Regions from separate parts of the Homo sapiens genome. Here all the other regions are linked to region 2. Evidence: promoter capture Hi-C in 16 types of primary human blood cells and fetal thymus (Javierre and others, 2016). All regions are on one chromosome and are shown on one strand. Each heading gives the region's core, a stretch centred on a gene start or on the middle of the fragment in contact. The rest is flanking DNA. Distances are from core to core; before and after follow the strand shown. Region 1 has its middle 7.9 kb from the start of HPDL. Region 2 holds the start of EIF2B3 (eukaryotic translation initiation factor 2B subunit gamma). Region 3 overlaps ARMH1 (armadillo like helical domain containing 1). Region 4 overlaps TESK2 (testis associated actin remodelling kinase 2). Region 5 has its middle 14 kb from the start of LINC01144. Region 6 overlaps TESK2 (testis associated actin remodelling kinase 2). Region 7 overlaps MUTYH (mutY DNA glycosylase).

What was found. The method cuts DNA at HindIII sites, captures the fragments that hold promoters and counts their contacts. A CHiCAGO score of 5 or more calls a contact.
Region 1: a contact is called between a fragment that was not itself captured here and the fragment with the promoter of EIF2B3 in region 2, in 6 of 17 cell types (M1 macrophages, naive CD4 T cells, activated CD4 T cells and 3 more). The highest score is 7.0, in M1 macrophages.
Region 3: a contact is called between a fragment that was not itself captured here and the fragment with the promoter of EIF2B3 in region 2, in 1 of 17 cell types (activated CD4 T cells). The highest score is 5.5, in activated CD4 T cells.
Region 4: a fragment that was not itself captured here is called in contact with the fragment with the promoter of EIF2B3 in region 2 in 3 of 17 cell types (naive CD4 T cells, activated CD4 T cells and non-activated CD4 T cells); the score reaches 6.9 in naive CD4 T cells.
Region 5: a fragment that was not itself captured here is called in contact with the fragment with the promoter of EIF2B3 in region 2 in 2 of 17 cell types (naive CD8 T cells and erythroblasts); the score reaches 6.2 in naive CD8 T cells.
Region 6: a contact is called between a fragment that was not itself captured here and the fragment with the promoter of EIF2B3 in region 2, in 1 of 17 cell types (total CD8 T cells). The highest score is 5.9, in total CD8 T cells.
Region 7: a contact is called between a fragment that was not itself captured here and the fragment with the promoter of EIF2B3 in region 2, in 5 of 17 cell types (naive CD4 T cells, naive CD8 T cells, M1 macrophages and 2 more). The highest score is 8.5, in naive CD4 T cells.

Annotation. Positions count from the first base shown.
Region 1 is chr1:45,317,269-45,320,795 of GRCh38, forward strand. No RefSeq gene overlaps it. Among named protein-coding and RNA genes, the nearest start is that of HPDL, 7.9 kb to the right of the region's middle. The HindIII fragment of the contact is 5,394 bases long and covers 1-3,527 here.
Region 2 is chr1:44,985,300-44,989,047 of GRCh38, forward strand. It overlaps EIF2B3 (eukaryotic translation initiation factor 2B subunit gamma), which reads right to left and starts at 1,296. Exons shown (of 12, transcript NM_020365.5): 1 at 1,194-1,296. It also overlaps the pseudogene PPIAP35. RefSeq lists enhancers at 1,070-1,339, 1,298-1,879, 1,590-1,639 and a silencer at 1,430-1,519. The HindIII fragment of the contact is 3,433 bases long and covers 510-3,748 here.
Region 3 is chr1:44,682,735-44,686,152 of GRCh38, forward strand. The region is part of intron 1 of ARMH1 (armadillo like helical domain containing 1); the gene reads left to right. Among named protein-coding and RNA genes, the nearest start is that of ARMH1, 9.7 kb to the left of the region's middle. The HindIII fragment of the contact is 751 bases long and covers 1,555-2,305 here.
Region 4 is chr1:45,361,913-45,365,514 of GRCh38, forward strand. The region is part of intron 4 of TESK2 (testis associated actin remodelling kinase 2); the gene reads right to left. Among named protein-coding and RNA genes, the nearest start is that of TOE1, 24 kb to the left of the region's middle. The HindIII fragment of the contact is 2,207 bases long and covers 635-2,841 here.
Region 5 is chr1:45,288,417-45,292,062 of GRCh38, forward strand. No RefSeq gene overlaps it. Among named protein-coding and RNA genes, the nearest start is that of LINC01144, 14 kb to the right of the region's middle. The HindIII fragment of the contact is 4,556 bases long and covers 1-3,646 here.
Region 6 is chr1:45,467,500-45,471,279 of GRCh38, forward strand. All of the region lies in intron 1 of TESK2 (testis associated actin remodelling kinase 2), which reads right to left. Among named protein-coding and RNA genes, the nearest start is that of TESK2, 22 kb to the right of the region's middle. The HindIII fragment of the contact is 239 bases long and covers 1,393-1,631 here.
Region 7 is chr1:45,335,046-45,338,566 of GRCh38, forward strand. The region is part of intron 1 of MUTYH (mutY DNA glycosylase); the gene reads right to left. Among named protein-coding and RNA genes, the nearest start is that of MUTYH, 3.2 kb to the right of the region's middle. The HindIII fragment of the contact is 5,969 bases long and covers 1-3,521 here.

The sequences.
Region 1 (3,527 bases), core at 470-2,969, 330 kb after region 2:
CTCTCCCTTCCTCCCCAGGCTGCTCTTTGCCAGGCCGAGCCAGGTCCCAATTCTTCCCAGCCTCCACTCCCCCACTCTATAATCCTTCTAGCACCTCCCATCCTCACATCCAGTCCGCTTATCCGTGACTAACCCTCCCCCACCTGCCCAACAATTTCCTCTTAGAGAGGTGGCTGGAGCTGTAGGTATAGTCAAGGTTAATGCTCCTTTTTCTTTAGCCAACCTCTCCCAAATCAATTAGCATTTAGGCTTTTTTTCATCAAATATAAAAACCCAGCCCAGTTCATGGCCCATTTGGCAACAACCCTTAGACGCTTTACTGCCCTAGACCCCAAGGGGCCAGAAGGCCGTCTTATTCTCAATATACATTTTATTACCCAATCCACTCCCAACATTTAAAAAAAGCTCCAAAAATTAGATTACAGCCCTCAAAACCCACAACAAGACTTAATTAACCTTGCCTTCAAGGTGTACAATAATAGAGAAGACACAGCCAAGAGGCACCGTATTTCTGAGTTGCAATTACTTGCCTCTGCTGTGAGAGAAACCCCAGCCACATCTCCAGCGCACAAGAACTTCAAAACGCATAAACCACAGCAGCCAGATGTTCCTCCAGGACTTTCTTCCCCAGGATCTTGCTTCAAGTGCTGGAAATCTGGCCACTGAGCCTTGGAATGCCCACTACCTGGGATTCCTCCTAAGCCGTGCCCTGTCTGTGTGAACCCCCACTGGAAGTCAGACTGTCCAGCTCACATCGCTGCCACTCCTAAAGCTCCTGGAGATCAAACCCAACATTCCTTGGCTGACTCCTTCCCAGATCTCCTCGGCTTAGTGGCTGAAGATTGACACTGCCCGAGCGCCTCAGAAACCTCCAGGACCATCACAGACCCTTTGGGTAACTCTTACAGTGGTGGGTAAGTCCGTCCCCTTCTTAATCAATACAGAGGCTACCCACTCCACATTACCTTCTTTTCAAGGGCCTGTTTCCCTTGCCTCCATAACTGTTGTGGGTATTGATGGCCAGGCTTCTAAAACTCTTAAAACTCCCCAACTCTGGTGCTAACTTGGACAACATTCTTTTATGCACTTCTTTTTAGTTATCCCACCTGCCCAACTCCCTTATTAGGTCGAGACATTTTAACTAAATTAGCTGCTTCCCTGACTATTCCTGGGCTACAGCCACATCTCATTGCCTCTCTTTTCCCCAGTTCAAAGCCTCACCCCTTACTATCCCATTAAAACCTAATCACCCTTACCCCACTCAATGCCAGTATCCCATCCCACAACAGGATTTGAGGTGACTAAAGCCTGTTATCACTCACCTGTTACAGCATGGCCTTTTAAAGCCTACAAACTCTCCTTACAACTCTCCTATCCTACCTGTACAAAAACCGGACAAGTCTTACAGGTTGGTTCAGGATCTTCACCTTATTAATCAAATCGTCCTTCCCATCCATCCTATAGTGCCAAACTCATATACTCTCCTATCCTCAATACCTCCCTCCACAACCCATTATTCTGTTCTGGATCTCCAAGATGCTTTCTTTACTATTCCTTTGCACCCTTCATCCCAGCCTCTCTTTGCTTTCACTTGGACTGACCCTGACACCCATCAGCCTCAGCAACTTACCTGGGCTGTACTGCCACAAGGCTTCAGGGACAGCCCCCATTACTTCAGTCAAGCCCTTTCTCATGATTTACTTTCTTTCCATCCATCTGGTTCTCACCTTATTCAATACTTTGATGACCTTCTACTTTATAGCTCCCCCTACAAATCTTCCCAACAGGACACCCTCCTGCTCCTCCAACATCTATTCTCAAAAGGATATCGCATATCCCCTCTAAAGCCCAAATTTCTTCCTCATCCATTGCCTATCTCAGCATAATTCTCATAAAAACACATGTGCTCTCCCTGCTGATCGTGTCCAGCTAATCTTCCAAACCCCAACCCCTTCTACAAAGCAAAAACTCCTTTCCTTCCTAGGCATGGTTACGTACTTTCACCTTTGGATACCTGGTTTTGCTATCCTGACTAAACCATTATATAAACTCACAAAAGCAAACCTAGCTGACCCCATCCTAAATCCTTTCCCCCACTCCTCTTTCCATTCCTTAAAAACAGCCCTAGAAGCTGCTCCCACACTAGCTTTCCCTAACTCATCCCAACCCTTTTTCATTACACGTAGCCGAAGTGCAGGGCTGTGCGGTCAGAATTCTTACACAAGGGCCAGGACCCCACCCTGTAGCCTTTCTGTTCAAACAACTTGACCTTACTGTTTTAGGCTGGCCCCCACATTATTTCTGATACCACACCTGACCCCCGTGACTGTGTCTGTCTAATCCACTTGGCATTCACTCCATTTCCCCATATTTCCTTCTTTCCTGTTCCTCACTCTGATCACACTTGGTTTATTGATGGCAGTTCCACCAGGCCTAATTGCCACTCACCAGGAAAGGCAGGCTATGCTATAGTATCTTCCACATCTATCATTGAGGCTACCGCTCTGCCCCACTCCACTACCTCTCAACAAGCCGAACTCATTTCCTTAACTCGAGCCCTCATTCTTGCAAAAGGACTGCATGCTAATATTTATACTGACTTTAAATATGCCTTCCATACTGCACCACCATGCTGTTACATGGGCTGAAAGAGATTTCCTCTTCTCAAGGCCGCTTTATTTCCAAAGGAAGCTGGAGTCATTCACTGAAAAGGCCATCAAAGGGCCTCAGACCCCATTGCTCAAGGCAACAATTATGCTGATAAGACAGCTAAAGAAGCAGCCTGTATTCCTACTTCTGTCCCTCATGGCCAGTTTTTCTCCTCATCAGTCACTCCTACTTACTCTCCCACTGAAGTTTCCACATATCAATCCCTCCCTACTCAAGGCAAATGGTTCTTAGACCAAGGAAAATACCTCCTTCCAGCCTCACAGGCTCATTCCATTCTATCGTCCTTTTTAACCTCTTCCATGTGGGTTACAAGCCACGAGCTCGCCTCTTAGAACCTCTCATTTCCTTTAAGACATTTGCCCTGCATTTCACTCCATCCTTGGCTACCTTCCCCTTGTTCTTCGGACTCTCCTCCTAGCTGTCCTCTTGCTTGCTTATACCTGGCCCCATGAATAGCAGTGAAAGGTTATTCATAGACACTATGCGCTTTCTCATACACCATAAAAATCGAACCTCCCCCTCTACCCAGTTGCATCATCAATCCCCATTGCAACCTCTACCTCCCAGGTACAAGTGATTCTCCTGTCTCAGTCCAAGTAGCTCAGATTACAGGCATGCACCACCATGCCTGGCTGATTTTTTTGTATTAAGTAGAGATGGGGTTTACACCATGTTAGTCAGGCTGGTCACGAGTTCCTGACCTCAGGTGATCCACCCGCCTCGGCCTCCCAAAGTACTGGGATTACAGGTGTGAGCCACCACACCTGGCCAGACTACCTGTCTTTTAACTAGCTCTCTGAGCTCTGGGCAGGGCCCACACTGAATCCTGGGTTTCCAAACCGGGAGAATTATTCTGA
Region 2 (3,748 bases), core at 46-2,545:
ATCCTCTTGCCTACAAAGCCATTCCTAACCGTTCCCACCCCTCCAGAAGTGACTCCTTTTCCCGAAGTGCTTCCATTCTGCCATGTGCAGATTCTCTTAGCCTTTACGGGTTTCATTGCACGTATGTGTTTAAATGTCTACTTAAGTGTAACATTAATGTCTCTTAAATGTCTACATAAGAGTGTAAGAGTGACTTTCTTGGACTGTGTGTGCATCATCACTGTATTCCCAGTCAGATGCCAGAAATCAAAGTGGAATGAGGACCTGTGAACTTCACAACTGTATAAGAGTCAAACTCAAACATGTGCATAAGGGCATTAGAACCCAGGTCACTAGGAACTGAGGTTCCAGCTCTCAAGGAGGCCCTGGGTGAAGAAAGGCAACCTAGGAAGCATGAATAGTAATCATGAACATAACTAATCATGCTACCAGGCAGACTGTCAAATGCTCATGTCACTGCCACGACTATGGCTGACGGGAATCATGGCAACGAGTCTCGCTGCCTCCCAAGCTTTGGAGAGGGTGTTCACCGCATCTCAGACTTGCCTGCATCATAGCACTCATGCCTTTTCCAGTTGTAAATAGATAAGAAAACTGTATCAGAATTGGTCTGTCATTCCACGTGTGCTGCCTGAAGGCAGAGACCTCACTGCTCCTCCCTATATTTCACTGCCCTGCATCCAAACAACTAAAGGCAGGCTGAACAAATGAATGAAGGGCTGAGGCTGAAAGAGTGCAGGCACAGTGCTAAAGGCGTCTGGTACCGGTCTGGTGCTCGCTCACTCGCTGTGACTTTAAGCAGAACCCTCCCCGAAACTTCGTTTCTTTCTTTTCTTTTCTTTTTTTTTTTTTTTTTGAAACGGAGAGTCTCACTATGTTGCCCAGGCTGGAGTGCAGTGGCGCGAATTAGGCTCACTGCAACCTCCACCTCCTGGGTTCAAACGATTCTCCTGCCTCAGACTCTCGAGTAGCTGAGATTAGAAACTTAGTTCCTCCATCTGTTGCATAAGGTGGTTGGCTCGGATTCTCATCCCCAACCTCCCTTCTACTTCGGACACAGCTACACCGGGTCGAGCAGGGAGTCGAGCTGACAACTTCGGGGCTCAGCACCCTCTCCTACCCCTTCGGGTCCACCTCGGCCCAGTTCGACATGCCCGCCTCCCTCAGATGAGTGGCCCCACCGCACTGCTCACCCGGGTCAGCCAGCTTGTGTGCGGCCTGGCAGGGCAGAAGTCACAGCTATAACTCAGCTCCCGGCACGCCGCAACCGCTCCCAGCGATCTCCACGCCGCCTCTGACTGACAGCCCAATGGCGCAGGCGCGCGATGGCCGAGAAACTCGATGGAACGCGCAGAGCAGACCCATGGAGAAGAGAAGACCGCCGAGCGATGGATGACGGAGGGGAAGCACACTCAGCGGAGAGGAGGGAAGGCGGGCCGGAGGGGGCGGGGCCACCGAGGAGCATTCGACACGTGTGTCCCTCTGTCCATTAACACATTACCAACGCCTTTTGAGTATTCCTCCCAGTGCAGGGTGCCGGGAACCCAGACGGAACAACTCAGCCTCTTTCCTCAGGGAGTAAGTCTAAGACCTGGCTTCGAGTACATTCGGTGAAAGAAAGCTCATTGGGAGCCGCAATTTTGGCTAGCTAGTGAAAAAAATCACCGAATGCCCCTGCAGGGGTTGCCAGGACTTCCTATTTGTTTTTGTTGTTGTTGTTGTTGTTGTTTGTTTTTTGTTTTTTTTGAGACGGAGTCTCGCTCTGCGTCGCCCAGGCTGGAGTGCAGTGGCGCGATCTCGGCTCACTGCAAGCTCGGCCTCCCGGGTTCACGCCATTTTCCTCCCTCAGCCTCCCGAGGAGCTGGGACTACAGGCGCCTGCCACCATGCCCGGCTAATTTTTTTGTATTTTTAGTAGAGACGGGGGTTTCACTGTGTTAGCCAGGATGGTCTCGATCTCCTGACCTCGTGATCCGCCCGCCTCGGCCTCCCAAAGTGCTGGGATTACAGGCGTGAGCCACCGCGCCCGGCCCGGGACTTCCTATTTGTAACAGGGCCACTCACGTTAACTTTAGCCATCAAAACTGGGGGCGGCTGGGCATGGTGGCTCATGCCTGTAATCTCCGCAATTTGGGAAGCCGAGGTGGGAGGATTGCTTGAAACCGGGCGTTCAAGACCAGCCTGTGCGAGAGAGCCTCCAGTCTCTACAAAAGTAAAAATTAGCTGGGCATGGTAGTGTGTGCCTGTAGTCCCAGCTGCTCAGGAGGCTGAAACGGGAGGATCGCTTGAGCCCAGGAGTTCGAGGCTGCAGTGAGCTATGATCGGGCCACTGCACTCCTCCTGCCTAGACGACAGAGTGAGACCCTGTTTTTTTTTTTTAATTTAGTTTTTATTTCATAATCATAAACTTAACTCAGCAATCCAGTTAGGCATGGAAAGGAACAAGGAAAACATGGAACCCAAAGGGAACTGCAGCAAGAGCACAAAGATAAGATACTGCGAGCAGGCCGGGCGTGGTGGCTCACGTCTGTAATCCTAGCACTTTGGGAGGCCGAGGCAGGCAGATTGCCTGAGCTCAGGAGTTCAAGATCAGCCTGGGCAACATGGTGAAACCCCGTCTCTACTAAAATACAAAAAAAAAAAAAAAAAGAAAGAAAGAAAGAAAGAAAAAATTAGCCAGGCATGGCGGCGTGCGCCTGTAGTCCCAGCTACTCGGGAGGCTGAGGAAAGAGAATTGCTTGAACCCGGGAAGTGGAGGTTGCAGTGAGCCGAGATCGTGCCACTGCACTTCAGCCTGGGAGAGGGCGACAGGGTGAGACAGCGTCTCAAAAAAAAAAAAAAAAAAAAATACTGCAAGCAAATGGGGTGAAGGGGTGCTCTTCTGAGCTACAAAAGGAATGGTCTGGTGGTTAAGATAAAACAAAAGCCAAACTTGTTAGAGTTGTCCACAGTCAGCAATGGTGATCTTCTTGCTGGTCTTGCCATTCTCGGACCCAAAGTGCCCCATGGCCTCCACAATATTCATGCCTTCTTTCACCTTGCCAAAGACCACAGGATTGCCATCCAGCCACTCAGTCTTGGCAGTGCAGATGAAACACTGGGAACCATTTGTGTTGGGTCCAGCATTTGCCATGGACAAGATGCCAGGATGTGTATGCTTTAGGACGAAGCTCTCGTCATCAAATTTCTCCCCGCAGGTGTACTTGCCACCAGTGCCATTATGGCATGTGAAGTCACCACCCTGACACATAAACCCTGGAATAATTCTGTGAAAGCAGGAACCTTTATAACCAAATCCTTTCTCTACATTGCTCAGAGCACGAAAGTTTTCTGCTGCCTTTGGAACCTTGTCTGCAAACGGCTCGAAGGACACGCGGCCCAAGGGCTTGCCGTCGACAGCGATGTCGAACACGGTGGGGTTAACCATGGCTGATCGTACAGAGCTCCTGGCGTCGGTGGCTGCATTTGCAAAGCCGAGACCCTGCTTTTAACAAAACAATAATAGGCCAGGTGCGGTGGCTCACGCTTGTAATCCCAGAAGTTTAGGAAGTGAGGCGGATGGATCCCTTGGGCCCAGGAGTTCGAGACTAGCCTGGGCAACGTAGTGAAACACCCTCTCTACTAAAAATACAAAAATTAGTCAGGTGTGGTGCCGCGCTGTGGGGTTCCAGCTACTTGGAAGGCTGAGGCAGGAGGATCGCTGGAGCCCAAGAGGCAGAGGTGGCAGTGAGCCAATATGGTATCACTGC
Region 3 (3,418 bases), core at 680-3,179, 300 kb before region 2:
GGGCAACGAAGCAAGACCCCACCTCTACAAAAAATAAACAAATATAAAAATAAAAATTAGGTGGGCATGGTGGCATGCACCTGTAGTCCCAGCTACTCAGGAGGCTGAGGTGGGAGGATCACTCGAGCCCAGGCGATTGAGGCTGCGGTAAGTTATGATTGTGCCACTGCACTCCAGCCTGGGTGACAGAGCAAGGCCCTGTCTCAAAAATAAAAATAAAAATAAAAAATCTCACATCACTGTGGAGTTTAGGCTGGGGCAAGCCCGAAGACCAGTGGAGGCTGTTGCAGTAATCCATATGCGGAACAAGGGTGTGAAACTGAAATAGCGGCAGTGGAGGTGAAGACAGACAGACTGATCTCAGGGAAATTTAGGACATGTAATTGGCAGGAGCTGGCAACAGTTCAGATGAGGGCAAGGGAGAGGAATAAGTCAAAGACAACTTTTGGCTGACTAGGAGGGTGGTGACCCAAGCACTGAAATAGGACCAACACAGGGCAAGGGGCAGGTGTGAGTTGATGAGTTCAGTTTGGGACCTGTTGACTTGAGGAGCCTGTGACACATACCAGTGAAGAGTCTGCCGGTCACTTAAGTACATAAAGAGATCTGGAGCTCAGGTGGGAGGCCCAGACTGAGGAGACGGATTTGAGAGTCGTGCGCCTATAAATGTAATTTGAAGTGATGGGGTGAATGAGGTCACCCAGGGATTACAAAGCATGAGAAGAGAACTAAGAACGGGAAAACGACCTGCAAAGGCACTATCCTGCAATGGCAACTGAGGATTCAGAGAGTCTGGAGTAGAACCAGGGGATTCTGGGGTTAGGAAAAGAGTCATTCACAATCCATCAGAGAGACCAAGCACGCTGGGACGGTGAGCTAAACCACTAAATCTGACAACAGGAGATTATTGGTGACACCTTGGAGCACAGAGGAGAACAGGATCCATGCCCTTGGCTTAGTGGGGAAAAACCTGGACTTTGGAGTTATATGCAGATCTAAGTTCAAATCCCATTCCCATCCCTATTTGAGACCTTCAATAAATGAGCAAACCCTTCTAAACCTTAGTTTCTTCATCTGAAAGTTGTGGATAATGATGACCTCCTGAGGATCTTAAGAGGATTAAAACAAAGAATTTAGGCAGGGTGCGGTGGCTCACACCTGTAATTCCAGCACTTTGGGAGGCCAAGGTGGGAAGATAGCTTGAGGCCAGGAGTTTGAGATCAGCCTAGGCAACACAGAGAGACCCCATCTCTATAAACAAAAACAACCACAGAGAGAGAGAGAGAGTGTGTGAGTGTGTGTGCGTATGGTGTGTGGATAGCTCTTAATCAACACTCAAAAAATGTCAGTTTCTTCTCCCTGCCTTCATTCCTTCTGCCTTCACCAGGAAACACAGCTAACATCACTTTTTCCTTAGCGGTCAACAAGCTTAGATACAATTTATCCCAGCAACTGACTCTTGAAATTGACACATTTTGGTCTTTTTTCCACTGTTTTCATCTTATTAATTATTTTTAAAAATGGTAGTTAATGGGTCTTTTTTTACCCTCATCAAGCTTACTATTAAAGAAAGGTTGAGATAAATAATACATGACTGGAGGCTCTTAATTAAATATACTTAATGTCTTTTATCTCCCCCTACTTCTGAAAAACCTTAGTGACATAACCCCGCTGAAGAAATATAAAAAAGCATTCAGTCACAAAAGTTCATGGAAGGAGGCAACAGGAGATGAAAGAATTCAACAAATATTTGGAAGGCAGAAGGCAGGTGCAGGGAGGCTAACCGGCTTGAAGCAGAGGAAATTGCAAGCAACTGCCAACAAGGGGAGCTTACCAACAAGAAACCAGTCAATTCAGCCAGTTTGACCTCTAAGAGGCTTAATGCTTGAAAGCACAAATTACCACTGAAGGTCAGAAATGAGGTATGGAGCCCAACCTAGGGGGATTCACTGACCTCTGTGTGCAGAGCACTTGCCTGCACTCCAGACCCTCAACCGCCAAGAAAGAAATGACTCTAAACTTTCTTGCTGCATGAAGAGGAAGGAAGTTGGACTCTGTAGGCCTCCTTGCACAGGGACCTCAGGCAGGGCTTGAAGGGCAGGAATGAGACATAGAGTTGAAAACTGATGAGTAGAGGGAAGGTCTACACACAGCATTGTGTGAGCCCTTCCCCCACCTGACTCCCAACATGCCATGGCGAGGTGTCTGTAATAGCACCCCTGCTCTCTCACCCTCCCTGGGAAAGTAGGAAAGTCTTCTCCAGAGACCCTGATATCTCTATGAGGGTGTTAAAAAAAAACAAACAAGCTTCCACTGACTGACATTTATGAATTCCCCAGTGAGAAGACTAGTTGCCTAATAAATATCCAAACACTGAAGGATACAGTGATTTAAAGAGCCCACCAAGGGCCTACTATAGTAAATTAAAAAAGACCTTCACCAAAGCATATCATTATACAACTTCAGAAAGGTTTCAAAATCATCAGGAGTGAAAAAAATAGACAAAGGCACAGGAATCAGAATGACTTCAGATTTCTCATCAGTAACAGCAACTGGGGAGGGTGAATCTGAGGGAAGCTTTTTTTTTTTTTCGAGACAGGGTCTTGCTGTGTTGCCCAGGCTGGAGTGCAGTGGCGGGATCATAGATCACTGCAGCCCCGACCTGGTCTCATTCGATCTTCCCACCTCAGCCACCTTAGCCTCCCAAGTAGCTGAAACTACAAGTGTGTGTCACTATACCTGGCTAATTTGGGGGTGAGGGGATGGAGGTCTCACTGTGTTGCCCAGGCTGGTCTCAAACTCCTGGGCTCAAGTGATCCTCCTGCCTCAGCCTCCCAACATACTGGGATTATAGGCATGAGCCACCATACCTGGCCAGATAGCTTATTTCTTTTTTTTTCTTTTTTTTTTTTGAGACAGAGTCTCACTCTGTCACCAGGCTGGAGTGCAGTGGCACAATCTCGGCTCACTGCAACCTCCACATCCTGGGTTCAAGTGATTCTCCTGCCTCAGCCTCCTGAGTAGCTGGGACTACAGGCACGCGCCACCACGCCCAGCTAATTTTTGTATTTTTAGTAGAGACGGGGTTTCACCATGTTGGCCAGGATGGTCTTGATCTCTTGACCTCGTGATCTGCCTGCCTCGGCCTCCCAAAGTGCTAGGATTACAGGCGTGAGCCACCGCGCCCGGCCCAGATAGCTTATTTCTAACGCGGAGTTATATACCCAGCCAATCCAACATGTGGTCAAAAACAATATTTTTAGACTTTCCAGGACAAAACAAGGGAGTACACAAAGAAGGAAGAAGATGTGAGAGACAGGAAATGGGCATCCGTCAGAAAAACTCGGCAAGAGGAAATCCCAGGACAACATTTGCATACTGGCCTTAGTGAGCAACCAGTCTAAACTATAGTAGAAAG
Region 4 (3,602 bases), core at 488-2,987, 380 kb after region 2:
GGATCGCTTGAGGCCAGGAGCTCAAGACCAGCCTGGGCAACATAGCAAGACCCCCACTCAAAAAAAAGATGGTAAATTATATGTTATATGTATTTTACCACGATAGAGAATGTGTGTACAAGTGTCCCCATAGTTCTTTAGTCCCTTCCACTATGTAAGGACACAACAAAAAGACAGGCATTTATGAACCATGAAGTAGGCCCTCACCAAACACTGAATCTGCCTGTGCCTAGATCTTAGATTGCCCAGCCTCCAGAAGTGTGAGAAATAAATTTTTGTTGTTTATAAGCTACCCAGTCTATGATATATTCTTATAGCAGCATAAATGGACTAAGACAACTGCCTAGGCTAAAGAGTATAGGTTCTTCCCACATATCCCTATAGGGTCTGGTAGGTACCAATTCAGGCACAGACAAGCACATAAACATATCCATACAGAGAATATTCTGGACTGGCTCTAGGGAATATGTACCTCTCTCTGAGGTAAATGCACCCAGGACTCCAGTTCCCAATTCTTGCTGATTCTAGTCAGCTACAGTAGTTTCAACCAATTATAACTATTCAGAACAATAAGACAAAATGGTAGTTTTAAAAAAATTTGAATTACCAGTGTACTGATACCTGCAACCAAATAAGCTTATCTCTGAACAGTGGTTCAAAGGCATTCAGAGAAGGTCTGGAGAAAATATCAACTCTAAGAATTATTATTCCTTTTTGAAAAATCTACCCAACTGGCCAGGAGTTAGGGCATTTACCCAAAGAAGATAACTGTGCTGTCATCTAACTAGCAGAGATAATTTGCTACCATCTAATTAGCAACATGGTACTGAGAAAGATTCATCCATCCTTCTGTTCACCTACCCAAACACTGAAAACCTACAATGTGAAACACAAAGATAAATGGGGCCAGTCTCTGCCCACAGAGACTAGTCTAGCCTAGATGGTCTAGTAGGGATGCCATACAATCAACTAACACTTTTTTTTTTTCACACAGGAGAATAACATGATCAGATATGCTACATAGAAATATTCTAACAGTAGTATAAAAATTGTATGAAAAGGTCAGGAACTGAGGCTGGGAGAAGAGTTAGGATAACCAAGGCCTGAATAAGACAATGGCAGCAAGAATGGAAAGGAGGTTATTATCTCAGAGACATTAGAGGTAGAATCAGCAAGATTTGGTGTTTGTTCAAAGGCAAGGAGTAATTAAAGAGATAAGGTCTAAATACAAAGTCAGTCCAGTTTGGTGTTTAGCTCATAGTACACAACTCATTCTCCCATTTAACAGTATCTTTTTAAAATTTATTTTCATTTTTTACAACAGGTAGAACCCACTATCAATAACTTATCATTCTCACGCCTCCCTTAGGTTATTCCATTAGCTTTCTAACCTGTTTTCTTGCCCCCTTTTGCATCTTGAAAAGATTTAGCCCTCATTCCAATCCATTTTCCACAATATAGCCAAGACAATCTTTCTGAAATGCCAACCTGAAGCCACTCTCCTGTTAAAATTATTCAGTGATGTGCTATTACTTGTAGGATAAAACCCACAATCCTTAGAAAGGCACACAAAGCCTTTCACTCCTGCTTATAAAAGTCTGACTCCTGCTCACCTGCACATTTGTACACATTGCTGGTCCCTTTACCTCTAATATCCTTCCCCTTTCCCCACCTAGGCCTGGCTAATATTCACTCATTGTTGAGGATTTAATTCCATTTCATGGTAACCCATAGGCAGGGTTGGGGATAAGAAAGACAGTCTATGCAAAAGGAACACAAAGATAACAAAGCACAGAGATTAGTAATTATTCTTTTTTTTTTTTCTGTATAAGTAGGGGAGAAAGTATGAAGCTAAAAAGTTAAGATGGGCAGTATAATATAGTGGTGACTGCAGTTAGGCTGGCTAGGATTGAATCTCATCTCAGACTATAATAGTTGTAGAGCCCTGAGTTGGTTACTCAGTTTGTTTAATACACATCTATAAAATGGGAATAATAATAGTGCCTAACCCACAGAGTTGTTGTGAAGATTCAGTAAGTTGATACATGTAAAATGCTAAGAATAATGTCAAGGAAAGTGCTCAATATGTCAGTTATGACTATTTCTATTATTATTATTATATTTGTTATTAGTGCAGAAGTTCTGGAATACCAAGATGAAGCATCTACAGTTAATTCAGCAGACCACAGGGGCCACTGAAGGTTTATAGGTAAAGGTATAATATGATCTAATGGGGGTTGAATTACATCCCCCCAAAAGATGCATGCAAGTCCTAAACCCTGGTAAGGTAACTATAAATGTGACCTTATTTGGAAATAGGGTCTTTGCCAATGTAATCAAGTTAAGATGAGGTCACATTGGAGTAGGGCAGGCCCTTAATCCAATACGACTGGAATCCTTATAAAAAGAGTGGCAAGAGATATAGGCACACAGGGAAAATGTCATGTTAAGATAGAGGCAGAAATTGGACTGAGACATCTACAAGCCAAAGAACACCAAAAACCTACCAGAAGCTAGGAAAAGGCAAGAAGGATCTTCCCGTAGAGCCTTCAGAGAGAACAAGGCCCTACCAACACTTTGATTTTGGACTTCCAGCCTTCAGAACTCTGAGATAATAAGTTTCTGCTATGTCACCCACATTGTAGTGCTTTGCTATGGCAGCTCTAAGAAACTAATACATGACCCAAACTGCATTTTAGAAAGATCATTCTGGTAGCAGGATAGAGAAGGAATTAGAGGCAGTTTTGGAGGGTACTGCAACAGCCAGATGAGAGGTGACCAAACATCTAACTAACAGTGCTATTTATGGGCAAGAAAAAGTTGGCTATAGTCAGAATATAAAGCTTTTTAGCAACTGAGTGATAGATATGAGAAATAAGGAAAAAGAGTCAAAGACATCTCAGAGATTCCAAATTGAAAGGTTCAGACAGCAATGGAAAAAGATTTCAGAATCTTAAATGACTCAATGTGCCATCAGTAAGTCAGAAACCTGTCAGAAACCAGTATCAATGTCAAACAGCCAAATTAGTGGCTTGTTGGCACTCTACTCTTTGGAGGGGCTCTTTGCAGAAAAGGGTTTGGGCCCCGACCTAGTTTTCACTGTAGCCCAACAATACTTTTGTGCTGGCCACCGTATGTTTGTTGGTAGGCTCCAAACACAAAGGCTAGCCGACATCCCATCCTGCTGGCTTGGGTTAAGGAAGAAAAGAAAGCTTTGTTACTGCTCTGGGTAATTCCAGAACAGACATCCCAAGAGTGCCCTGTGGGAGGCTTGTGCTCCAAAGAAGCCTCCTGTTCTCAGCTCGAGGATCCACAGCCACTACAAGCGTACATCCGTATATCTGCCAAGGACTGAATTTGCCTACCGCTCCAGGAGGTTCACCAGGGCCTGCCTGACTGAAACAGTCAGTAGTAATGAGCTGACTCAAAAAGAAAAAGGGAACACTAGTTCTAGCCACAGAGTAAAACGTTGTTAATAACCCAAAATATATTTCAGAATATTTAAGTGTTTAACTCTTGGCCTTCATATATGCTTGCTGAATACCCTTCTTCATAGCTTTGCTAATTCTTATTCATCCTCCTTGTTTATTTATTTTCATTTT
Region 5 (3,646 bases), core at 953-3,452, 300 kb after region 2:
AATCCAGCATATAAACAGAACCAACGACAAAAACCACATGATTATCTCAATAGATGCAGAAAAGGCCTTTGACAAAATTCAACAACTCTTCATGCTAAAAACTCTCAATAAATTAGGTATTGATGGGACATATCTCAAAATAATAAGAGCTATCTATGACAAACCCACAGCCAATATCATACTGAATGGACAAAAACTGGAAGCATTCCCTTTGAAAACTGGCACAAGACAGGGATGCCCTCTCTCACCACTCCTATTCAACATAGTGTTGGAAGTTCTGGCCAGGGCAATTAGGCAGGAGAAGGAAATAAAGGTCATTCAATTAGGAAAAGAGGAAGTCAAATTGTCCCTGTTTGCAGATGACATGATTGTATATCTAGAAAACCCCATTGTCTCAGCCCAAAATCTCCTTAAGCTGATAGGCAACTTCAGCAAAGTCTCAGGATACAAAATCAATGTGCAAAAATCACAAGCATTCTTATACACCAATAACAGACAGAGAGCCAAATCATGAGTGAACTCCCATTCACAATTGCTTCAAAGAGAATAAAATACCTAGGAATCCAACTTACAAGGGATGTGAAGGACCTCTTCAAGGGGAACTACAAACCACTGCTCAATGAAATAAAAGAGGACACAAACAAATGGAAGAACATTCCATGCTCATGGGTAGGAAGAATCAATATCGTGAAAATAGCCATACTGCCCAAGGTAATTTATAGATTCAATGCCATCCCCATCAAGCTACCACTGACTTTCTTCACAGAATTGGAAAAAACTACTTTAAAGTTCATATGGAACCAAAAAGAGCCCGCATTGCCAAGTCAATCGTAAGCCAAAAGAACAAAGCTGGAGGCATCATGCTACCTGACTTCAAACTATACTACAAGGCTACAGTAACCAAAACAGCGTGGTACTGGTACCAAAACAGAGATATAGACCAATGGAACAGAACAGAGGCCTCAGAAATAATGCCGCATATCTACAACTATCTGATCTTTGACAAACCTGAAAAAAACAAGCAATGGGGAAAGGATTCCCTATTTAATAAATGGTGCTGGGAAAACTGGCTAGCCGTATGTAGAAAGCTGAAACTGGATCCCTTCCTTACACCTTATACAAAAATTAATTCAAGATGGATTAAAGACTTAAACGTTAGACCTAAAACCATAAAAACCCTAGAAGAAAACCTAGGCATTACCATTCAGGACATAGGCATGGGCAAGGACTTCATGTCTAAAACACCAAAAGCAATGGCAACAAAAGCCAAAATTGATAAATGGGATTTAATTAAACTAAAGAGCTTCTGCACAGCAAAAGAAACTACCGGCAGAGTGAACAGGCAACCTACAGAATGGGAGAAAATTTTTGCAACCTACTCATCTGACAAAGGGCTAATATCCAGAATCTACAATGAACTCAAACAAATTTACAAGAAAAAAACAAACAACCCCATCAAAAAGTGGGCAAAGGATATGAATGGACACTTCTCAAAAGAAGACATTTATGCAGCCAAAAAACACATGAAAAAATGCTCATCATCTCTGGCCATCAGAGAAATGCAAATCAAAACCACAATGAGATACCATCTCACACCAGTTAGAATGGCGATCATTAAAAAGTCAGGAAACAACAGGTGCTGGAGAGGATGTGGAGAAATAGGAACACTTTTACACTGTTGGTGGGACTGTAAACTAGTTCAACCATTATGGAAGTCGGTGTGGCGATTCCTCAGGGATCTAGAACTAGAAATACCATTTGACCCAGCCATCCCATTACTGGGTATATACCCAAAGGATTATAAATCATGCTGCTATAAAGACACATGCACACGTATGTTTACTGCGGCACTATTCACAATAGCAAAGACTTGGAACCAACCCAAATGTCCAACAATGATAGACTGGATTAAGAAAATGTGGCACATATACACCATGGAATACTATGCAGCCATAAAAAATGATGAGTTCATGTCCTTTGCAGGGACATGGATGAAGCTGGAAACCATCATTCTCAGCAAACTATCGCAAGGACAAAAAACCAAAACTGCATGTTGTCACTCATAGGTGGGAATTGAACAATGAGAACACATGGACACAGGAAGGGGAACATCACACACCGGGGACTGTTGTGGGATGGGGGGAGGGGGGAGGGATAGCATTAGGAGCTAAACCTAATGCTAAATGACGAGTTAATGGGTGCAGCACACCAACATGGCACATGTATACATATGTAACAAACCTGCACGTTGTGCACATGTACCCTAAAATTTAAAGTATAATAATAATAAAAAAAAGAAATCAGACAAAAAATATGTGTGTATAGACATAGACATATATATATATATATATATGACTCCATTAAAAAAAAAAAGTAAGTGATCTTTGTTCTTACACCATATGGTATAATAAGCACCTTTTTTCTTCAGGAATGATTGGATGTTCATAGAAATGCCCACTTAAATTCCTAGAGGCCGGCCATGGTGGCTCACACCTATAATCCCAGCACTTTGGGAGGGAGGCCAAGGCCTGCAGATTACCTGAGGTCAGGAGTCTGAGACCAGCCTGGCCAACATAGTGAAACCCATCTCTACTAAAAACACAAAAATTAGCCGGGCGTGGTGGTGCATGCCTGTAATTCCAGCTACTCGGGAGGCTGAGGCACGAGAATTGCTTGAACCCAGGAGGCAGAGGTTGCAGTGAGCCAAGATTGCAAACTCCACTCCAGCCTGGATGACAGAGCAAGACTCTGTCTTAAAAAAAAAAAAAAAAGTTCCTGGAACTCTAGGCTGAGTCGGCAGAAAGGCGACATGTTTATTTATTAGGGATTGTAATTGGTGAGTAGTAACAGAGATCTAACTATGATGGCTTGTACAAATTTATTCTTGTACATAAGAGAATTCCAGAGGCAGGCAGTCTAAGACTGGTATGCTCTAGAAAGTCACCTAGGATTCTATTTTTGTGCTTCACCATTCTTTAAGCAGCTTCTATCTTCAAGGTTAAAATGTGGCTACTGGCACTCCAGCCATCATATCATAGTTCTGGGCAGGAAGATGAAAGTTAAAGTTAAAGTTAAAGGGCTTTTCTGGAAGCCTTACTGCTTATAGCTCATTGGCCACCCTATCTAAAAGACAGGTTAGAATGTAAAATTTTTCCTCTAGACATGTGGCCAGCAAATTTTCCCTAACTAAGAAGGGAAAAAATCAATATTAAATAGGCAATTAATCGTCTGTAGATCAGAAGAAACAAAACATGGCCTGGCATAGTGTGTGTATGTATGTGTGTGTGTGTGTGTGTGTGTGTGTATATATATATATATATATATATATATATACACAGATATATACAGAGAGAGAGAGAGAGAGTACAATGAGATTTATTATAAGGAAATGGCTCATACAGTTATGGAGGCTGCAAAGTCCCATGATCTGTTATCTGCAGGCTGGAGACCCAGGAAAGCCAGTGATATAGATTTCAGCTTTAGTCCAAAGGCCTGAGAACCAGAAGCACTGATGGTGTAAGTCCCAGTCTAAGGGCCAGAGAAGACCAACGTCTCAGCTCAAGCCATTAGGCAGCCCCAGCAAACTATTATAGCCCCATTTAATCCTCCCACCGACCCCACAAAGTCAATCATTAGCTCAATTTTA
Region 6 (3,780 bases), core at 262-2,761, 480 kb after region 2:
TTTTGTATTTTTAGTAGAAATGGGGTTTCACCATGTTGGTCAGGCTGGTCTCAAACTCCTGACCTCATGATCCGCCCGCCTTGGCCTCCCAAAGTTCTGAGATTACAGGCATGAGCCACTGTGCTCGGCCTTCACAGTTTTTTTTTTTTTTAAGTCTATTGCTAATGCAACAGCTATGTAGCATGCTTAAGCCAAAACATTGATAACAATTTGGCAAATAAACAGCATGCCAGTGTGCAAGCCAAGCCTCTAGACTCTCAAACTTTTATTCTGCTAAATTTCCACCGTAGTTTTTAGTCCTAGGAATATATATATCTTAGGCTAAAACTTCAAAATCATGGGTGAATTTTTGGATGGCCTAACTTATTTAAGTCCACAAACTTAAAATATTGGGTGGGATCACTGGCTCACGTCTGTAATCCCCCAACAATTTTAGAGGCTCAGGCAGGATGACTGCTTGAGCCCAGGAGTTCAAGATCAGCCTGGGCAACATAGTGAAATCCCCGTCTCTACAAAAAATACAAAAATTAGCCCGGCATGGTGGTGCACACCTGTAGTCCTAGCTACTCAGGAGGCCAAGGTGGGAGGATTGCTGGAGCCCAGGAGGTCAAAGCTGCAGTGAGCCGTGTTTGGGCTACTGCATTCCAGCCTGGGCAATAGAGCAAACGTCTGTCTCAAAAAAAAAAAAAAAATTAGAGAGCTCATAACAAACACTGATATTTAGTGTAGAGACCCTATCACATGCTAAAGTAATACTAATGATTAGATAGCTGAGATGAGTGGTAAGAAGTAGAGTCCTCTCCATGGGAGTAAGAACTGTATTAATCCATTTTAGAGAAGTGCTGAGCAAGAGAAAACTTCCAAACCATGCCTTCTGCTCCCTTGGCGAGCAAACTAAATGACTATATTTTAAATGAAATCAACCAAGCTATAAATGGCTGTCAATTTATTCTGACAAATTTTAATAACTAATAAAAGGCAGCAAAGATATACACGTACAAACCCTAAAACCAAGCCCAATTTTATAAAATGTGGGAATGATTACTTTTAAAATAAGAAAATACATTATTTCAAATATATGACATTTTATGATGGTTTCTGCCTCTGGATTACCTCTCTTGGTCTTATATATTGAGTATTATCTATTGATACTAATAGTGTCCCTCAAAGTATTAATATACTTTTTTTGGAACAGAGATAACTACAGTTACCATCACATTACCAGAAAAACATAAGGCGTTATTGTCACAATGATGGGGGTGTGGGATGAGCACTACTGGTATTTTAGTGGGCAGGTGCTAGGGAAGCTAAATGTCCTACAATGCACAAAACAAAGAATTGTCCTGCCCTAAATGCCAATAATGCCCTGGTTGAGAAACACTGTGTTAGAGAAGCTTAATCATTTTTGTTCTTAGACTAGGAAATAGCATTTAGCAGTCTTTCAAAAATGCCCAAATTATGTGGCTTATAAGGACACAAGTAATTTTTTAGTAACTATGTTCTCAACTTAAATATTATAAACTTGGAAGTTCAAAACTTTTTCTTTTCTACATAGGTAGGTTTGTTTTTTCAAATATTAATTTCATTTATATAGGAGTTGATTTGTTTTTCACAAAGAAAATACAACTAAAAGCTTTGATTGGGGAAAGTAATTTGAAAAGCTACCAATTAAAAAAAAGTTAGTGAACTAAATAGCCTATCTTCAATATTATATTTTTTAATCTTTCCAAAGTAAGAATTCCAAAAATCATTTTTCAGAAATATCAAGGAAATTTTTAGGACTCTCAGACCACACTCCTGTCTGAAATATGCTTCTGGAAATAATAACTGCAGCCACTATTTACTACAGACCACGCATTCTACCAAGGGTTTTGTATGTTATCTGTAATCTTTGTGACAACTCTGCAAAGCATGTATTATCATCTCTAATTTAAAGAAAAAGAAATCAAAATCCTGAGAGATTATGACTTCTCCAAATATAAACAACTAGTGAGACTCAGGATTCAAATCTAGTAGTTTCAAACCTAAGCACTTCCCATTATAACATGTCTCCTTCAGAAATACATCAAATTTCTGTGAAAAATGATTTGTGGGTTAGCTACGTAGAAAGCTACTACTATTCCCCAACTTCCCTCAACAGGGTGAGTAAAAAGTGTACAAATGATGGCTCTACCAGTCTCTGAGGCAAAAGCCTTCCTTCAGTCATTCAATCACATTCTACAGACAGAAAAATCAGTATTGATTTAAACAGGCTTTCTAAAGAATGGATGCCATGCTGACAGGGAAAATATGCCAAATCCCAATCATTCTCTATTTTCCATTCTAATGCACAGTATCTGCTGTTTCTCACCCCTTCATTTCAGCAAAACAAAGTAGATACAACTTCACAATAGTCCAGACACAAATTTAATCCTGCAATGCACTAGAAAGCTATCTACCAACAGGTAGCTGGATTTGGCAGTGTCAGCCAGCAATCAAAAATTGTCAATGTCCATCCAAATATGGAATCATATGTGCACAAAGTTGGTAATATTATCCCACAAAGTCATCAAAAAAGATTTCTGAGAATTCAGTGGACTTTCACACCCTAGATATAAAGAGTAGAAAAAGACTGCAAACATAATATACCAATATCCTCATCACATTGTTTTCTTTCTATAATCATAAAAAGTCCCCACCTAATCCAGAATAAATTAAGGATTCATTATGAGTAATATGTAGCCCCGAAAACTGGCCACTTATTTTCTAGAATGGGAATACTGACAAGTACATTAGCTGTGTATCAATACCAAACACATGGCAAATCTACATGACAAGTCTGCTCAGCTGTTATTCTTTCTATGGACCAACACAGCTAATACAGACACGTTTCAGGATGACTATCTAATTAAAAATAAAAGCAATACTGCTGAGCTTACCTTCCTGCTGTGAAATAATGAGTTGCAGTTTCCATTCAAACCAAAGGCAATCTAGCATAAAAACTGGCATCCCTTATCTAATTAACCACGAATATACACAATGGCATATATTAGTACCAGACAGATCAAAAGCCAGTTCTTAAAAGTGTATTAGCTCTTCTAAATAAGCATCATATTTGCTGTGTAACTTCAATCCACCAGGCCCTAAGCCATGACATAAAACAGAAACTTAGGGTGAAAGTTATAAAGGCAGTTAGAGATGAACTAGTTTAATCTTTAGACCAATTCAGGAATCCCCTCTATTAGCTGACTCAAATGTTAATTGGGTAGCCACTAGGTGCAAGGCTTTAGGACAGGTGCTATAGTATTTACTGAGCATTTACTATAATCCAGATGCTTTTCCAAGTGCTTTACATTTAATATCCATAACAGTCCTATAAAATAGATGCCATTATTACCCCCAATTTACAAATGTGTAAACGAAGGCATTAAGGAATTAACTTGCCCAATCTCACAACCAAGAAGTGGTAGAAGGCTGAGCACAGAGGCTCACACCTGTAATCCTAGCACTTTGGGAAGCTGAGGCAGGTGGATCACGAGGTCAGGAGGTCGAGACCATCCTGGCCAACATGGTGAAATCCCATCTCTACTAAAAATACAAAAATTAGTCAGGCATGGTGACGTGCACCTATAGTCCCAGCTACTCAGGAGGCTGAGGCAGAAGAATCACTTGAACCCAGGAGGCAGAGGTTGCAGTGAGCTATGATCACACCACTGCACTCCAGCCTGGTCGACAGAGCAAGACTCCGTCTCAAAAAAAAGAAGCGGAGGAGCCAGAATTCAAACCCAGAGGCTGTACTCT
Region 7 (3,521 bases), core at 371-2,870, 350 kb after region 2:
CTATTTTTATTCCTAATCTAGTAAACCATAGGTGGCTGACCATCAACAATGAGAAAATGTGCCTGGTTGATTTTCACTGCTCCCTAACTGTTATAATGGCCGCCTTTTCTCTAACAGCTAAAATTAGTTGATATTTTGTGAGTGCCTACTCTATGTCAGACCCCATGAAGAGCTTTACCGGATCTCTCAATCTCCTGGTGACTCTATGAGGTATGTACTAGTATCACCTCCACCTTAGTTATAAGGAAATTGAGGTTTATGGAGATTAAGCGACTTGTTCTTTCAAATCCACGACCAGCATTCTTATACTGTGATAAAATGCAGTCCCTGCTAAGCCTCTGTATCAAACTCTCCCCCCAAACCTTTGACTTTACCACCTCATTTTCATCAAAAGAGCTTGCCTCCTCCTTCAGAAAAAAAAAAACCAACTTCAAATCTACCTCCATTTGCACTGTCTTACCCTCCTCCTCTTCAGGGTCCTGCTCCTCCAATCCCGTCTAACTGTTGGAACTCAGAAACTAATACCCCAGGCCAGGCACGGTGGCTCATGCCTGTAATCCCAACACTGCGGGAGGCTAAGGCAGGCAGATCACTTGAGGCCAGGAGTTCGAGACCAGCCTGGCCAACATGGCGAAACCCCATCTCTACTAAAAATCCAAAAAAATTAGCCAGACGTGCTCGCTTGAACCCAGGAGGCAGAGCTTGCAGTGAGCTGAGATCATGCCACTGCACAGCCTGGGCAACAAAGACAGAGCAAGACTCTGTCTCAAAAAAAAAGAAAAGAAAAGAAACCAATACCCCAAAATATGGCCCTCTGACATGCTGAACTCAAGAAGCCGCAAGGTCTCTCTGATCCTTCCACCCCAGACTCTCCCAAAGCCAGGATAAAGTTGTTCTCTGGAACTCTTTATCTGCCTAAAGTCCAAACTCACTAAAAAGAATACTTGTTTTTTCTTCCCCTCCCAATAAGACTAACATGTAACCACACCTGAACAAACCCTTTCACAGGTATTGTGTACCTCAGGATCACTCAAATTCCAAAGAGAACTATTAACAAGTCAACCTCTGTCCCCATTCCATTCTCTCTAGTAATCCTTTATTGCCCTTCAACAGAATCTCCTTCTGGCCAAAGTTCGGTTTATTTAAAAACAAATAGAGCTGGACATGCTGGCTCAGGCCTGTAATCCCAGCACTTTGGGAGGCCAAGGCAGGAGGATTACTTGAGCCCAGGAGTTCGAGATTAGGCTTGCAACATAGCAAGACCCCGTCTCTACAAAAACAGAAAAACAGAATTTCTCTTCTACCCCTTGTCAGGCCTCTGAGCCCAAGCTAAGCCATCATATCCTCAGTAACCTGCACTTATACATCCAGATGGCCTGAAGCAACTGAAGATCTACAAAAGAAGTGAAAATAGCCTTAACTGATCACATTCCACCACTGTGATTTGTTTCTGCCCCACGCTAACTGATCAATGTACTTGGTAATCTCCCCCCCACCCTTAAGAAGGTTCTTTATAATCTCCCCACCCTTGAGAATGTACTTTGTGAGATCCACCCCCTGCCCCCAAAACATTGCTCTTAACTCCAATGCCTATCCCAAAACCTATAAGAACTAATGATAATTCCACCACCCTTTGCTGACTCCTTTTTTTCAGACTCAGCCTGTCTGCACCCAGGTGAAATAAACAGCCTTGTTGCTCAGACAAAGCCTGTTTGGTGGTCTCTTCACATGGACACACGTGAGACACCCCTCCCATAATCTGTTTTGCCAGATGGTATATAAACTCACGAACTCTGTAGGGAGATGGGTAATCACTTTATGGTTCTCCCAATGTGCATGTTAATAAATTTGTATGCCTTTTCTCCAGTTAACCTGCCTTTTGTGAGCTGATTTTTCAGCAGATCTTCAGAGGGCAAAGGGAAAGATTTTCCCCTTGGCTCGTAACACAATCAAATCCCACCCTCCTTCCCTTCATAGCCAAACTTCCTTCACCAAACCTGCTTACTTCCACATTCATTCTACAATCTATTCTCCAAAGAGCAAAGGAATCTTTTCCAGATCACGTCACTTCCTTCCTTATAACCTTCAATGGTTTCCCATTCTTTTTTTTTTTTTTGGGATGGGGTCTCACTCTGTCACCCAGGCTGGAGTGCAGTGGTGTGATCTTGGCTCACTGCAACCTCTGCTTCCTCGGCTCAAGCAATCCTCCCACCCCAATACCCCACCCCAACTCCAAGCAGCTGGGACCACAGGCGCACACCACCACCACATCCAGCTAATTTTTGTATTTTTGTTAGAGACAGGGTTTCACCATGTTGCCCAGGCTAGTCTCCACCTCCAGAGCTCAAGCAATCAACCCGCCTCGGCCTCCCAAAGTGCTGGGATACAGGCATGAGCCACGGCGCCTGGTGACACCCCATTATATTCTTTTATTTTCTTTCTTTTCTCTTTTTTTCTCCCTCCCTCTTTCCTTCCTTCCTTTTTTCCTTTTTCTTTCTTTTTTAAATACTGTAGGCCTTTACTATGGGTCATTAAATTCTTGAGCAAGCTGGTTGTGGTGGCTCAACACTGTAATCCTGCTACTCTGGAGGCTGAAGTGAAGAACAGCTTGAGCCCAGAAGGTCGAGGCTGCAGTGAGCTATGATTGTGCCACTGCACTCCACCCTGGGCTCAGCAAGACCTTGTCTCTTAAAGAAAAAAAAAGATTGAGCAAATATTTATAGAGCCCCCTAATATGTGCCAAGCAGTTTTAGGCACTTGGCATACTTCAGTAAATAAAACATCAAAAGTTCCTGCCCTCAGGGAGCTTATATTCTAATGGGGACAGAAAAGGAATAATGAACATAAGTAAATTCCATAAGATGTTAGGTGATAAATATTAGCATAAAAAGCAAAAATTAGACCAAGAGGGGAAAAAAAAGAGTGCCAAGGTGGGGTTTAATGTTGCAATTTTAAAGACTGTGGTCAAGGTAGACCCAAAGCATTCTAAGTGAGTGCAAAGGCCCCAAGGAGGGTGCCTGGTATGTCTGTGGTACAGTAAGTAGGTCAATGTGGTTAGAATGGAATGAGATGGGACTGAGTGGTAGAAGAGGTCAGAGAAGTAAACCAGATGAGGTGGGGAGAGGAGGGTCACAAAGTACCTTATAGGCCATTGGAGGGATTTGGCTGCCACACCCTTGCTCTTAGAAGGCAGTCCTCTTACTACAGCCTTGCAGGTCCAGTGATCCGGGCACCATCCGCCTCATCCCCTCACTATGCTCTAGCCAAGGTTGACTGAATTTAGTTGCTTAAACACCTCAAGTGTGTCTGCCCACCTTGGGGCCTCACACAATCCATTTCCTCTGTTTGGACTCTTTTATGCTTTTACCTAACACCTTATCATTTTTCAAGTCTTGACTGAAATGTCCAAATCAGGTCCCCTCATCTTATCCTATCACATATTTCTGCCTTGTAGCTCTTACCTAATGTAATTTTACATTACTTTGATTCTTTCCATCAGTGTGTACTTCCTGAATTTGACT